3 separate regions of the Homo sapiens genome follow, and all the other regions are linked to region 1. The links are contacts of gene promoters, found by promoter capture Hi-C in blood cells and fetal thymus (Javierre and others, 2016). All regions are on one chromosome and are shown on one strand. Each heading gives the region's core, a stretch centred on a gene start or on the middle of the fragment in contact. The rest is flanking DNA. Distances are from core to core; before and after follow the strand shown.

Region 1 (3,482 bases), core at 574-3,073:
GCTATAGTGATTTCTTTCCTTTATATCTTGTAGAGCTGGAGGAACTTCAGTAAGCTGAAGACTCTGTTCAGAGGAAATTACCTAATTGAAAATGTCTGGGCTAAGAGACCGACAATAAAGGAAACTGGCAAAAGTACTCTTTAATTACAAGTTCTTTTTCATCTTCATCCAGCACACTGATTTATGTGCTACACTGGGTTTGTATTATATCTATATTTTAATTCCACAACTAGACACTAACTTTATTGAGAACAGCGATATTCATTTCTTCAATTTCATTTGTGTTAACCCAACTGTAGGTGATAGTGCTCTGTACATCATAGTTACCCAGTGAATTACGTACCTGACATATGATTGCTTATTTCTGGTATTAAAACAAGATTTCATAAAATAAACATGACAATTAAACTCGTTGTTTGAAGTACTGAACTTTGTAGGTCAATCTTGAAAAAGGAAGCTACATGACTGTCTTAGCAATATTTATAGGTATATTATATGTAAGTGGGTGGGTTTCTTGGAAATTGAATTGGTAATATGGCTTTAGAGTAGTAACACAAAAACTATAGCTCTGTGCTCTCAGCTAACCACTTTTAGTGTCACCTGGGCTGCTTATTAAAAATTCAAATTTCTTATCCCTACCCAGATCAGAATCAAAATACCTGGGGGTTGTAGCTCCAGGTACCTACATTTCAACAAGCACCCCAGATAATTGTGATGCACACTGAAGAACTACTCTAGCTTGTAATCTCAGGTGGTAAGGCATTTTATATATACATATATATATACACACACACAAGCACAAATGGTAATTCTATGGGAAAATGGAAATCAGCAAGTGAAGTGAAATGTCAATTACCATCAGGAACAGGAAGCTAGTTCACCATTACGCATCAGGGAACTGGAAGAATTCTTGAGATTTATTTTTTTGGGTGATATATTCTTGGCAGTTTATCAGGCCTCATTTGCAATTATGGTCTGTCCCTTTTGAAGCCCTCAGATAGTTCGCTGGCATTTTAATTTTAATAGCAATTTCTTGCATCTGTTGGAACAGCATTCGTATGACCGGCTTATAAGCAATGATCAGGGCTAGTAAGATGTCACAAAGCTGCGGTGACTTTTCCTTATCAGTTGGGGGTTTTTTTGCCATGATACCATCGTGGAAATGAAAGACAACGTGAAAATCCTGCGTCCTTGTGATATTTCATCAGTGGGAGTGAGCGGGGATCTTAACGCAGTAAGAGGCAAGATAAACGGATGAGAGGCATTAGTTCAGGCTTACAGGAGCAAGATGCTTTTAGTCAAAGTGTTCAAGATAGCTCTCTTAAAGAGGAGCAGTGAAACCCAAAAATGAGTGTCTTTTGAGGGCAGCTGGAAGATGACCCGAGGGGAACTTTTATCCTGGGGTGGAGTCCTGCGAAGCAAGCCGCAGGTGAGGGCGTGGGCCAATTCTGCGCCTCACTGCTGTTAGGCGCAAGGACATCCCGAAACACACTCAACGACACCAGCAGCGAGACTGACAGAAGCGGATCGCCAGCGGGAGCAACAACTTGAGGCGAGCCGTTAGCCGCCTCGCCTTCCTCGCAGCGCCCCTCCCGCGCCCCGGGAAGCCCGTTCGGCTCCGCCTTTTCGACTGACGTCCCGGGCGAGCGGGGGCGGGCGCGTGGGTGGGCCGAGCCGTCTGCAGCCAGCGATTCGGCTGGCTCTGCCACACCACCGCGCGCCCCCGCTCCGCCCGCCCCTCCGGGCGCGTCTTTTCCGGGCTCGCGCTGAGTCCCGCCTCCGCCGGCTGTCCGGGTGCGCGCGCGCCGCTGCGGCTTTTTCTCTGGCCTCCGCCGCGCGCTCCTCCTCGTCCCAGCGCTAGCGGGCACGCGGTTCCTTTTTGCGAGCTTTCCGAGTGCCAGGCGCCGGCCGGCTGCGAAGACGCGGTGGGCCGCCCCTCCGGTGAGTATCCCTGGATGGGGAGGTTGCGGCCCCGGCACCCCTGCCCTGTCGGTACCAGGGCCCCATTTCCAGAGGGGGACTGGCGTACCTCACCTGAGCCGGGAGGAGGTTGGGTGGGCATTCCAGCTCCTGGAGTCGGCTCGCTTTTTTCCTTGAGCCAGGGCTATCTATCCGCTCGCCTCCGCTGGGGCCGGGAAGATTCCCGAGGTCACTGTATCTGCTCCTGTGATGGACTCTGGGGTCCTCGGAACCCCAGCCTGCCTCTTCCTGCCGCTCACCGCATCCCGAGGGCCAGAAGTCATCTTCCTGATCGGGGTACTAGGCTTTGCCACGGCCCTTTCCGGAGGAGACCATGAAGTGCTTGCTAGACCTCCAAACGACCTTTAGGGTGCCCCTAAACCTCAACTCCATTTTGTCCCCTCCCAGTCGCTCTGTAACTGAGGGCTAGGGAGCCTCTCTAGCCCTAGAGGCATCCGCCCTCTCGAATTTGAGGGATGCCGTCGCTTCCGATATCTTCCTTGCTTCCGATATCTTCCTAGCTTCCGTAGGCTTAGGTTTGTTAGAAAACAGCTGGATCCTGGCGAAGCGTGCTTTCCTTCCTTCCCCCACCCCCGTTCTTTCTGTCTACATCCCTGCCTTCAGTGGGTGCTATATATTTAGTATGAGCTTTATTCACTTCCTCTTCCTCTCGTTTGAGTGCCTGAAAGAACTGTGGCTGATGTCTATAGACATAGAAAAATCTAGGAGAATATGATTCATTGTCTAACCCCATCAAGGGGTTACATATTTTAAATAAGACGTCATTTCTCCTCTTCACTCCAGCATCTCCTCCTTCAAAGGCATTTTTCACCCTCTTGAAATTAATACGCTCTATTCGCTCTTTTCACCTAAAAAAAGGTCAATCGTCGCTCTGAGAAACAACAGTGAGATGCAAAATAAGGGTAAAATGGCATTGAAATGAATCCCTTTGAAAAAGTAAGCGGTTTGCTTTATCAGTTAATGGTCTCATCAGCGCTTCAGTTTCCTCTTCTGCAAAAATCAGTCTGTTGAACTAGAGCATATCAAAGGTTCCTTCTAGTGTTTTGATTCTAGGACCTCTAAATTCATGCAGGCTGCATAATGCAAATTTAACCTGATTAAAGCCTTATTTCTCATAGTCGCTTGTCACCTTAGTTTTTCTTTTATTTTGTCTCTAACAAGAAAGACTTTTAAATGTTCTTGATACGTAAGGCAGCAGGTGGAGATTCAATGATGGTACTGCCATTGAGCATATCGGTCAAGATTTTAACAGTGTAAGGCCTCTTCCTTAAATTGTAAAATAGCTCATCTTTTGATTGAAACTGCTAAAGTGTAAGACATGTAAGACTCCTGTTAGAATTAACACTCTCTGCCATTTAGGTGGGGGATGAAACATTAAACTGTTAGTATACTTGTACCTTAGAATAAAGTACCTTATTGTCCTGCTATAAGAAATAATTTGACAACTAAAAATCCATGGAAGGTGTAATACAGCAATTGAAAGCTTGAGTAAATTCAATTTT
Region 2 (3,482 bases), core at 711-3,210, 2.0 Mb before region 1:
GACTTAAGATACCTGCAGTGTCTGATCAGTCTAGAGACAGGATTAGCAGAAGGAGGGAAAAAACCCAGAACATTTGAAGCACTGGAAAGACTCATTCAATTAAACTTCTAAATAAACTTAAATTATCTAACTATAACCCCAATTAGAAACTGAGTATGAGTTTAAACATGAAATTCAATGAAAAATCTGCTTTCCGTATCATTTAGGACTATATTCTGTGAATTCTAAAAATAGATCTTAGTCCTACTTCTCAAAACAAAAACTAACCAAGAGAAAATGTGTTATTTCAACAGCATTTTTAATTTTTAAAACATGCCACACAACTAGGTTTATGTCTTAGAAATCACCCGAGAAGTTAGTTTTATTAATTCACAAACAGGAAAACTGAGATCCAGAAAACTACTAATTTAGGCTAAGGACTTAGGAATGTTTTTCATTACTAAATATGGGGAGTGTATTATCCCCTCACTTCACACTGGCAGTGGAGAATTGACCAGTATGTAATGCTGCACAAAAGGAGAAATGATCATTCAAAAAGATGTACTATATGCGTCTCATAGACATCATTCCAACAGTGACTATCAGGGTCCTGCAACCAAGTACTTTAGTAGCACACTTAACCATGAGTAAACACCATATTGTATTGCCTTACTGGATTTCTTCACCAGTCTATTATAGGATATTCTAAAATAATTACTACAAATAAAAAATTCCATTTAGTCCTTATTATCTATTAGAAAAGACACTATATGACATTATGGGTTACAGATACTGAGTTAATAGCATAAGAATATTAAGGTTAGTTTCAAAAATGTATTGGCTAGTATGCTTTAAACAAAAAAAGTATTGAATTTGTGTTACATTATAAAAACTGGGAATTACTGGCCGGGAGTGGTGGCTCATGCCTGTAATCCCAGCACTTTGGGAGGCTGAGGCGGGTGGATCACGAGGTCAGGAGATCGAGACCATCCTGGCTAACATGGTGAAACCCTGTCTCTACCAAAAATACAAAAAAAATTAGCTGGGCATGGTGGTGGGCGCCTGTAGTCCCAGCTACTCCGGAGGCTGAGGCAGAAGAATGGCGTGAACCCGAGAGGCGGAGCTTGCAGTGAGCAGAGACCGCGCCACTGCACTCCAGCCTGGGCGACAGAGCGAGACTTTGTCTCAAAAAAAAAATAAATAAATAAAAATAGAAATAAAAATAAAAACTGGGAATTACTAAATTTAAATGTAATTAATCAAAAGGGTTTAATTACAAATGAGTCTAGGAATTAAGACCAAAATAGTAATAAACAATGACCAAGAAATGAAGTTACTGAAGTTCGCCTCAGCCTAGGGATTCTTAACCCGGGGCCATGAGGTCCTGCAAACTTTCTGAAAGTCACTGCAAAATCATGTATATAGAGAAGAAAAGCCACAGTTTTAAATTAAAGAGTTCCATGGCTGAAAGAAGCTTAAGAACCACTGCCTCAGAGAACAGGACTGCAGCCACCAAAATAAAATCATGTTCAAAGCTATGATACAAGTGTCAATCAAAATAAGTAATTTTGGCCAGAATATGGTAAAAAATTTATAAGACAATGAAGATATAGAAATACCAACATAGATGGTATATAATGGTATTAAAAGCCTGTCAAAATATTTTTCAAGAATCAGTATCAACATTAAGAAGCATGTATTCTGGCCGGGCACAGTGCCTCATGCCTGTAATCCCAGCACTTTAGGAGGCCGAGGTGGGTGGATCGCTTGAGGCCAGGAGTTTAAGACCAGCCTGGCCAACATGGCAAAACCCCGTCTCTACTAAAAATACAAAAATTAGCCAGATGTAGTGGTGGATACCTGTAATCCCAGCTACTCAGGAGGGTGAATCACTTGAACCTGGGAAGCGGAGGTTGCAGTGAGCGGAGATAATGCCACTGCACTCCAGCCTGGGCAACAGAGCGAGACTCCGTTAAAAAAAAAAAAAATAAATAGCATCATGTATTCTACATTCCTGTTTGAACCTAGCCAGATTTGTCTACCTTTTGTTTAGCCGCCTACCAAAAAAAAAAAAAAAAAAAAAAGAATTAAAAACTGTATAATAAATAGAGCATTCACGTAGGGAATTAGCCATTAGCCACTTAATAAGTAATTAAATATCATTTGATGACTGGGCACAGTGGCTCACGCCTGTAATCCCAGCACTTTGGGAGGCTGAGGCAGGCAGATCACTTGAGCCCAGGAGTTCAAGACCAGCCTGCGCAACATGGCAAAACCCCGTCTCTACAAAAAATTAGCCAGGTGTAGTGGCCCATGCCTGTGGTTCCAGCTACTCCAGAGGCTGAGGTGGGAGGGTCACTTGACCAGGGGAGGCAGAGGAGCCAATATCTTGCCACTGCACTCCAGCCTCGGTGACAGAGAGACCCTGTCTCAAAGGAAAAAAAAAATTGTTTGGTAATATCCTAAACCTTTCTCTATGTAAGCTTTTACTAGAAAACACTATAGTGCTTTTCATATACCTGATTTTTAACATCATGTTTTGCCACAAATCCCTGACAGGTACCATTATTTGACAGACCCTTAAATACCATTAAGATACTGCATAGAATCAGCACTGTTATATTTGGGATGCTATTCTTATATGTGCTTGATCCTACAAACTTACCATACAATATGATGGTCACATCTTCTGAACAAGAGACTTACTAGATACTTCGCTGTCAAATCAAAGTCAGTATGAAATAAATGTGTACAAGATGACAGTGTTTCCTAGAACAATACCTAATCCTAATCAAGACAATCAAAAAAGAGTACTAGGTTACAGAAGTGCATTCATCATTTATGGAAAGCCTACTGTGTTTCAGGCAAAGGACTCAAAAATGAGTAAGACATAGGTCCTTCAGAGCAGGAATCATGTCTTGGATCCTGCTGATACAAAAGGTAGATTCTCATTATGCATTTATATTAAAAGCCTGAATGATGAATACATAAGCTTGAGGTACTTAGGAAATAAAGCTGTGAGTGCTTGGAAACCAATTAGATATAAGGGGTTGGAGACAGAGTTAAAGGCTAGAAGAATGACTAAATGATGATACCATTAATAAAGATAAGCACCTCAGAAGAATGAAAAGAAATATGATTTCAGTTTGGGGCACACCTTGAGTTTGAGGTGCTTACAGAATTAACAGACAGACAGGGCCAAAGGCAATTGGAAATATCATTTAGGAGCCCAAATCAGAGTTGGGAGATACAGATAAAGGAGTCAACAGTAGAAGCTGTGGGAATGCTGAAAATTCCAAGAAAAGAAATAAAGCAAGGACCAAAATGAAACTTTAAAATACAACTAAGAAAAAAGAAAAAGATTTGTAAATAACTTGCAATCAGGTAAACCAATTGAAAGAGTTTCTCCACATGGATTCTACACATGGATTCTATGAGTAGCCATCACTGTGGTTTTTTAAGTAGCAATGTAAAAATTCAAAAAGGTTATACACCTATGGCTA
Region 3 (3,482 bases), core at 490-2,989, 1.6 Mb after region 1:
GCAAATTTATAGAAACAAAAAAGTAGATTAGTGGTTGTCTGGGGCTGGGAATGGGACAGAGGATTGATTAACTATAAATAGGCATGAGGGACCTTACTGGAGGGATCAAAAAGTTCTAAAACTGATTTATGGTGATGGTTGCCCCACTTCAGTAAAGTTACCAAAAATCATTTAATTATGCACTTGAAATCAGTGAATTTTATGATATGTAAAATGTGCCTCATTTTGAGTGAGTGTTATACAGGAACTCTACTAACCTTGCAACTTTTCTATAAATCTACAACTATTCTGAAATTTTTGAAAAATTAAATAAAAATAAAAATAAAAAAGTATATGTTTATGAATTGATATCAGTATTTGGCAGTACCTATCTATGTAAAATGACATTTTCAAAGATTAAATAGGTAAAAATTTCCTAACAGATCAGCATTAACAGATGAACACTTAAAATCAATTTTGACAATAGGGAACACTAATTCTGAGCCCCAATTAAGCAAAATATTATCCCCTAAAAAGAATTCTATTCTTCTCATTGGTAGTCTTCCTGTATTACAAAAAAAGTACTCAATTACTATTATATTTTGAATTTCATCAATAAAAATTTGTTGAAATTTGTTTTCTCTTTTGTCATAAAAGTACCAACAAAATATTCTTGATTTTGCCTTTTGGCCTACAAAGCCTAAAATATTTACTATCTGGCTCTTTACAGAAAGTTTCCCAACTCCTGTTCTACACTATAACAGGATAAACATAAACATCATGAGTCTCTTTCTTGAATGTATTCTTATCGTTACCTAGTTGTGGCATAATGTCCTCTGGATATGCCCTATAAAGGATCAGTCTTGCATTGCTTCTGCTATGGCACTATTTGGGATTTCTATAAAAAGAAACACTATTAGCTTAATAGTTGTAGCAAAGCCTTGACAACATAGTTAATATCGTGATATTAAAATGCCAACACCACAGCCCGGTATCCTTAAGATGACCCTCATCAAGCTGTGATGTCACCAGGCTATGGACTCACCGAGGTCTCTTAGATATCAGGTGGCTCCCACGGCATCACACCCTGCCTTTGGCATCACCCTGGCACATCACCTCAGTACGGTGCCATATGCTATCACTGCTGTGGTAGAACCCTGTCCTGATGCCACACCGCCGAGATGTCAGAGTAATTAACCCCCACTTCTTTCCACTCCCTAGGCGGTGGCAGGGAGGGGGAGGGTAGCCACAGTCACCGGTTCGAGCTCAGTAGGTAGTACTCAGCTCCAACCCTTGTCCCTTCCGCCTGCCACTGCAGGTCAGGAACCCCGGGGGACAGGACCTTTAGGCTCTCATAACTCTTGCCCTGCCCCCGAACCTGTTTCATATGGCCGACTCAACGACCCGCCAGCGACTACCCACCCCGGCTCTTTCACACGGTTCCACTCAAAGCCGCTCCCCGTACCTGACTCCATTCTCCAGCTGTCATCCTGGGCCAATTCCACCGGCAACTTGACTACGGACGGACGGTCGCTAGGATCCCTGGGACTTGTAGTTCTGCACTGCTAGGGGCCAAGTCTGTGAGGGCAGCAAAGGCGCCTCCCTGCCCGGAACTGCTCTCAAACTGCAACTCCCAGAGGCGCCGCGCGACGGGAAAAGAAAAGGGAACGAGGAAGGCCGGTGATTGGTGAAGCTCTAACGGCTGTTTTGACTGGCGTAGCCGGAGCCGGCGACGTGAGGCGGGCGTTGCTCGCGCGACAAGTAGTTGCTGGGACAGCGAAATGGAGGGGTGTGTGTCTAACCTAATGGTCTGCAACCTGGCCTACAGCGGGAAGCTGGAAGAGTTGAAGGAGAGTATTCTGGCCGATAAATCCCTGGCTACTAGAACTGACCAGGTAAAGCAACGCTAGGTCTCTCCGCAGTCGGCGACGTCGGCGAAGCCCTACGTGGCTTTCGGGGCCCGGCCCTAGCGGAGGCCCCGTTTCTGAGAGAAGCAGAACCCCGCCCCCGCCGCCCCAAGCAGTCCCCCTGGGTCACCTCGGGACTCGCGATAGGCCTGCGGGAGCTAGCCCCACAGACCTCAGATATTTTCCCGTTGGCCCGGAGCTCCGCTCCCTGATTTTTGGATAGTTCTAGAACGTCTACCGCATTTCTCAGAAACTCCCAATCAGTGAAAAGGAAGGCTTTTTATATGGATTTATTTACCTTTACTAGTAACTGTATTCAGTAACGCATGTGAAATTGAACGCCCCTTCCGTGCCAGGCAGTTTGCTAGGAGCTGGGGATACGGTGGAGTGGAAGATGCAGACAATAAAATAAGCACAAAAACATGTCCGATTACAAATTGTGGTAAATACTCGGCAGAGAAGTTTACATGGTGCTTTCAGAACACGTTAATAGGAGGATCTGATGCTGAATATGACTGTCGTTAATTGGAAAAGTTTTTGCAAAGAAGGGAAGGTTAGTTAGACTTTGAAGCATGAGTGGGATTTCCATGGGGGAATGAGTGGACATTCTAAGCAGAGGTAGACAGAAGTTTAGAAGTGTTTCTTTCTGCCCTCCTGCTCACAGGACTCTCGTGCTTTCATCCTCAGTTTCTAGGATTCATGGTGCCTTTAGTAAGCCCACAAATATTTATAGATGGCCTTGTGTTTCGCAGACAGTGTCGTAAGCACTAGTGAGACTGTCCCATACTTACAGATCTCCATTTTGTGTCTTTTGGGAGAGAATTAGAAATCAAGAGACTGTTTTCTCTTTTCTGGAACTTTCCTTTATTACTCAACCTGAAAATGGCCTTATCTTTACCTGGTTTACTTCATTATGGTCTGGTGATATTTAAGGATTTAAATTTAAATGTAATACTTTATATTAAGATTTAATACTCCATTGGAAATTTAACCATTCTTCAGTCAAGTCAGTGGCTTAAAAAGGGAAAGGAACTATTCAGCATCAAGAGACGTAAAAAACATGAAGAAATGCAATTTATGGATCTCGTCTGGTTCCTGATTTAAACAAACCAACTGCAAAAAGACATTTGGGAGACAGTTGGGGGCAATCTGAATACAGACCGGATATTAGACATTCTAAAGGAGTTAGTGTTAATTTTAGTAAGTGTAATAATGGTCTCATAGTTATATAAGAAATACCTTTATTTTTTACATACTGAAAGAGAAGGGTGAAAAGTCATGATATTTAGGATTTGTTTTTGGAAAGCTCAGCAAGGAAAAAACTAGTTAAAGCAAATAGGGCAAGATGTTTGTTGTTAAATCTAAGCAGTAGGCCTGTGGGTTTCTATTCTATTCCCTCTATTTTTGTGTTTGAAATTTTTTTGTAATAGAGTTTAAAATACCATTTTCTATTCTGTGGGGCTAAGAAGTATAGCAGTCACTGCAAATAGGGATTCCCTTTGACAAATAATGACTACTATAGCTTTTTTAATTTTTATTTATTTTTATTTATTTATTTTTTGAAACAGAGTTTCGCTCTTGTTGCCCAGGCTGGAG

What was found. The method cuts DNA at HindIII sites, captures the fragments that hold promoters and counts their contacts. A CHiCAGO score of 5 or more calls a contact.
Region 2: a fragment that was not itself captured here is called in contact with the fragment with the promoter of ACSL4 in region 1 in 1 of 17 cell types (activated CD4 T cells); the score reaches 5.0 in activated CD4 T cells.
Region 3: the fragment with the promoter of PSMD10 here is called in contact with the fragment with the promoter of ACSL4 in region 1 in 1 of 17 cell types (total B cells); the score reaches 7.4 in total B cells.

Annotation. Positions count from the first base shown.
Region 1 is chrX:109,731,598-109,735,079 of GRCh38, reverse strand. ACSL4 (acyl-CoA synthetase long chain family member 4) reads left to right here and starts at 1,823. Exons shown (of 16, transcript NM_001318510.2): 1 at 1,823-1,941. It overlaps LOC105373311 (a long non-coding RNA gene), which reads right to left and starts at 2,569. Exons shown (of 1, transcript NR_158569.1): 1 at 122-2,569. RefSeq lists silencers at 1,561-1,870, 1,968-2,088 and enhancers at 2,211-2,350, 2,411-2,460. The HindIII fragment of the contact is 5,191 bases long and covers 1-3,465 here.
Region 2 is chrX:111,691,746-111,695,227 of GRCh38, reverse strand. The region is part of intron 3 of ALG13 (ALG13 UDP-N-acetylglucosaminyltransferase subunit); the gene reads right to left. Among named protein-coding and RNA genes, the nearest start is that of ALG13, 12 kb to the right of the region's middle. The HindIII fragment of the contact is 1,009 bases long and covers 1,456-2,464 here.
Region 3 is chrX:108,089,799-108,093,280 of GRCh38, reverse strand. PSMD10 (proteasome 26S subunit, non-ATPase 10) reads left to right here and starts at 1,739. Exons shown (of 5, transcript NM_002814.4): 1 at 1,739-1,874. The coding sequence starts at 1,761. It overlaps ATG4A (autophagy related 4A cysteine peptidase), which reads right to left and starts at 1,503. Exons shown (of 13, transcript NM_052936.5): 1 at 1,445-1,503. The coding sequence starts at 1,454. RefSeq lists enhancers at 1,301-1,540, 1,591-1,990. The HindIII fragment of the contact is 5,520 bases long and covers 1-3,482 here.